Linked DNA regions of Homo sapiens: region 2 is linked to region 1. Evidence: promoter capture Hi-C in human tissues and cell types (Jung and others, 2019). All regions are on one chromosome and are shown on one strand. Each heading gives the region's core, a stretch centred on a gene start or on the middle of the fragment in contact. The rest is flanking DNA. Distances are from core to core; before and after follow the strand shown.

Region 1 (2,543 bases), core at 27-2,526:
TCTCCTGCCTCAGCCTCCCGAGTAGCTGGGACTACAGGCGCCCGCCACATTTTTGCATTCGTAGTAGAGACGGGGGTTTCACCATGTTGACCAGGCTGGTCTCGAACTCCTGACCTCGTGATCCGCCCGCCTCGGCCTCCCAAAGTGCTGGGATTACTGGCGTGAGCCACCGCGCCCAGGCTTTTATTGACTTTAAATAATTTCAAATTAATAAAGAAAACGGCCGGGCACGGTGGCTCACGCCTGTAATCCCAGCACTTTGGGAGGCAGAGGCGAGTGGATCACCTGAAGTCAGGAGTTCGAGACCGGCCTGACCAGTATGGTGAAATCCCGTCTCTACTAAAAATACAAAAATTAGCCGGGCGTGGTGCCAGGCGCCTATAATCCCGGCTACTCGGGAGGCTGAGGCTGGAGAATCGCTTGAACCCGGGGGGCGGAGGTTGCAGTAAGCCGAGATCGCCCCACTGCACTCCAGCCTGCGCGACAGCCTGAGACTCCATCTCAAAAAAAAAAAAAAAAAAGAAAAAGAAAAAGAAAAACAAAAAAGAAAACAGGAGCAACATTTTACAAATTATACCATCTTTTAATTTTACATCCATGGAAGCTGAATGCCACAATTTGTCAGAGACAAGCTAAAGAAAACACAAGAATGAGTAATGTCTAACACTGCTTCGCGTGAAAATGAGAACACTCACAGTACCTACCTCTTTAGATAGCCATGTGGTTTAAATGATATAATAGACCAGTTGCTGGTATCATACCACATCCCATACTACGGGTCGTCTCTTCCCAAGTGAAAATCTGCTTTCTGGCCTACAAAAGGATTATACTAAACCCTTTTAGTGGTGGGGAGAGTATCCGTGGAGAGGAAAGAGCAGGAGGAAACAGGTCTTTCCCTGAAAATGAGCAAGGGCGTTTGGCTTTTATTGAAAAACGCCCCAGAGGAAGTACTGGGAACTGCACCGGCAACAGCAGCCTGACCCGCAGAAGTTTCTTTGGCCAGGGCCAGCACAGGTTTGACCTGGTGGCTCCGACGGCGGAGCGAGACTGCCAACACGTGCACACTCCGTCCAGACCTCCCACTTCCCTCCGCGCTCCCGCGATAGCTGTCCAGCAACTCTAGCTTTCTAGACTCAACCACGGCGTCGCCGCTCGTCGAGAGGGCTGCCCATCCCGGGGACCCGCCCAGCCTGGCCCAGCAAAATGTACCTTAGTAGCCTCAACCTGTACCGGAGAAAACGCAGGCTGCGCGGCGGCTTAGAGCGGTCAAGTGGAACCCCGCCTCGACCTCTCTGATTGGGTAATGCGCACAAGAAAATCAAGAGGATTGGTCGGCTGCAGAGAGGCGGCCCGTAACGCGACGCGAAAGAAGTGGGGCATAGCGGCCCGGGGAATTCTTGCTAGCTTCCGATTGGACGAAAGCAGAACGCCTGCCCCTTCGTAGACCCAGCGTACGTACAACGCTCACACCACCACGCCGTACGCTGCGTTAGCGGAAGTTTAATGGCCCCATTGGTGGGATGCGTGGCCAATAAAGGGCAAGAATAAGGCGGATTCCGCCTTCCTCGTGGCTGACTGGATGCATCCGCTGGTACTGATTTACGTGAGTTTCAGCATTTAGACGTTCCGAGTTTCCACCGAGCCAGAGTTGGGTAGAGAGTTATTAAGATGACTAGGAGACTAATGCGGGGAGAAATAATTTAGTAGTTAGACTCAGGCCCTGAAACTACCACTCGTGTTCAGAAAGTCTACGTAATACCTTATTGTTTTCACGCGAAGAAACCAGCCCTTCAGGCCGGGCTGAATGTGGTTTAGGGATTCTCTGGCTGTCATTGGGTGAAAAAGCGATCAGTTTGAAGGTAGCTCCGCCTGGGCTCTAGGGAACTCTGGGATTTGTAGTCCGGAACTTTCGAGTCCTGTAGCTTTAAATGTGGTTGTTGCTACTGAGTTCTTTCATGTTGTTAATAACACCCATTGACATTTATTGTGGTTTGTTGGACTTTTTATCCTTTCGTTTATCAGCAGCATTAAAGACAACATTTAAGAAATGTGTAAACACTGCATGTATGTTCGTAAACAATAAATGTTAGTGTTTCCAACAATTTACTGCTGTGCCTAGCTGTATACTATATGTTCATGCTTACTGTACTAAGTAGATACTAAAATTATTTGTTTCTAAAACTTTTGCTGTTACAACAAAACAGTCTGATTTTCATATTAGTGTCCATTTACGATTATTTGAACCCTACATTTAGCAATTATGTGTACTGTGATGGCATAGGTAGCAGCTGCTTACATGAATCAAGTGTTGTTATGACATGAAGCAGAACTGGCTGCTATCTTCACAGGAAAATAGGGCTATGCTTAAAATGTCAAGCAAGACCACCATCAGGAGGAATACACATTGTATATTATTAAAGACTGTATTATAGTGTCTATTTTCAGCCTTTATTAAAACAGTTTTAGGACAGGCTTTTCCTGAGTCTATAGAATCCTGAACTCTTCTGTGAGCTAATTTAGCGGTATTTCATTTTTGTGTCTAG
Region 2 (2,543 bases), core at 22-2,521, 1.5 Mb before region 1:
CTTTTTGTGGAAGGCTTTGAACACCAGTGTGAGGCATCTGAATCCTCTTTGGTAGGCGACTGGGAGCCATTGATGGTGTTTTTGATAGCACTTTGGAGAGGTTGGTCTTACATGTGTTGAATAGAAATGGCAAAATAGTTATGAGAGACATTACGGAGACACACTAAACGCTTGGAGATGGAGGGTGAGGGAACAAGAGTGAAGAGTCACTTTTCAGATGCAGACAGACCTGCATTTTCTATGTAACAAAGACCCAGTAATGTAGCAACTGGCCGCTTGAACTGTGGATGGTCTAAATTGAGATGTACTGTAATTGTAAAATATACTCTGGATTTCTAAGGTTTTTATATTGAAGAATGTAAATATCACATTGCTTACATGTTGAAATGCTAATATTTAGTTCATACAGCATTACATAAAATATATTTAAAATTAACTTAACCTGTTTCTTTAAAAATGTTTAGTGTGGACACTAGAAAATTTAAAATTATGTATGTGGCTCACATTGTATTTCTATTTGGATGGCGGTCGTTTAGATTTCGGACAAATGGAACAACGGTCGGCCACTTACAGACAAAGAAAAAGAAGAACATGAGGTAGGGAGAGGGATCATCAACTTAGTGTTTCATATTTTAGCTTGGAGTGAAACATTCAAGTGGAACGTCAATAAAGCAGCTGAAAATATAAGTCTGGGATTAGGAGGGAATTGAGTGGGAGAAGCAGTTAGAAAGCCAGTTGCTAAATCTTCTAGAACTACTGATAATTACTCAAAAATACTATATCATTATGATTCTCTGACAAATAATTTCTTTGGGCATGCTCCTTAAAATTCCATATGGTATATATGGACCTCCTTGACCTTCCATGTGGGCCTTCTCCTTACAAAATTCTCTCTAGTTTCCAGTGCCCATAGATATGGATGACTTACAAGGTGCCAAAGACTTGTAATGGAGTGAGAGATGATGGTGTGGGGTGCAGGCTGCTGCCACAATTGTGAACAAACTGGTCCCTAGGGGTTGGTGACGTGAGTGAATATTGACACTCAGAACAACCACAACTGTTTTGCAGTGCTCAGGAGGGAACAACAGAAGCAGTCTTTGCTCTTCACGATTTTATAATCTGATTTGTGGACATAAAACACCATCAGACAGTGGGATTTTTCTTTTTCGATCCCAGTGTCTAGAACTGTATGACCAGCAATTTAAACGCTCCATTCATTTTTGGTCCAATTCTAATGTCATTTTTTTTTCCATTAAATGTCTTGTACTCTTCCAACTGGATATACTCTTTTTTTCATTTGGGCCCTTATAGCATTTTGTATCTCTCTCTCTCTCTTTTTCATTGTCTGCCTTGTGTTGAATTATTTCATTACATACCTCTCCTCTCCCCTAGACTATATGGCCCTTGGATATGGAGGCCACATATTATCTTGATCTTTCCTGATAATTTGTCTTTAATTCATTCAGCCAGTGCTATGCTGAATGAACAAAAATTAAAATAGCTACCATTTGTTCAGCATTTACTATATGTGAGGTTTTGTAAGTGTTTAATTGACTTCTCACCAACCATAAAAGTTACATTTTATTATTTTCAAATTTATAGTGAAGAAAACTGAGGTACAAAGAATTTAAGAAACTAGTCCAGCGCTGTCCAGCTGGTCGGTGGTAGAGCCAAAATTAGAACTCCTGTAGCCTGACTGCTGAGCCTTCACTGTGAGACAGTGTATTGTTGTGCTTAGGAAAATGGTTTTTGAGTAAGATGGACCCAGCTTCAAGCCTTAATACCACTACCTATACCTGTAGGACTTTGGGAAAGTTCCTGTCTAAGCTTCTTTAACCCTTTTCCTGTTTTCCTTGAGACGACTTGCCGGTGGCTGCAGCGTTTACTCCAAGATAACTTTGCCACAAAATATCTCGCTTTTATTATTATTTTCACATCGCTCTACTATATCAACTTTGGAAACAAGAGACACCATTCTATTGATAGCATTCTGTTTTTAGTAGTGGTATTTTCGTTTACAAAAATGTAATAATTCTCCATCGCTGAAAATGTCAAATCCTAGAAAACGTAGCATTCCTACAACGAGCAGTTGTTGGCCAATGATTCATTTGATGAATTTGATTTTTCTGAAACGGATGATTCTGATGTTAGTTCTGTTTAGAAGTAACCCCAAGAACAGTTTTTATATTTTATTTTCACATTGAAAATCAGTCGGATTGGCTTTAGCCTCAAAGAATGTGTTTATGTAAAATTAAATGAGTGCTGGTAGCGAGCTGCATTTTTTTTTCTAAATGGAAAAAGCATTAAACTTTGGTTTTCTCGTCTCTAAAACAGGGGAAACAATTTCACCTAAGTCTTAGGTTTACTAAGAGAAGCACCAATTATCTCATGTACAGCATTTAATACTATGCCCAAGTTAAGGATCAAACTCAAAAAATTTTAGCTGAGTAAAATAAATAACAATGCAAGATTAAAATGTCAATCCATTAATCTGATTAAGAAAATTTCTGTTACTGACTTAGAAATAATGAGAAACCTTTAGT

Evidence for each region. Contacts are between HindIII fragments. The study calls those that stand out against the background at their distance.
Region 2: a contact is called between a fragment that was not itself captured here and the fragment with the promoter of WDR89 in region 1, in 1 of the 25 tissues and cell types used here (dorsolateral prefrontal cortex).

What each region holds. Positions count from the first base shown.
Region 1 is chr14:63,640,595-63,643,137 of GRCh38, forward strand. It overlaps WDR89 (WD repeat domain 89), which reads right to left and starts at 1,277. Exons shown (of 3, transcript NM_080666.4): 1 at 1,210-1,277. LOC105370532 (a long non-coding RNA gene) reads left to right here and starts at 1,467. Exons shown (of 3, transcript XR_001750790.3): 1 at 1,467-1,603. RefSeq lists enhancers at 865-1,524, 1,079-1,178, 1,589-1,858. The HindIII fragment of the contact is 13,842 bases long and covers 1-2,543 here.
Region 2 is chr14:62,140,410-62,142,952 of GRCh38, forward strand. No RefSeq gene overlaps it. Among named protein-coding and RNA genes, the nearest start is that of LINC00644, 1.7 kb to the left of the region's middle. The HindIII fragment of the contact is 3,120 bases long and covers 1-2,543 here.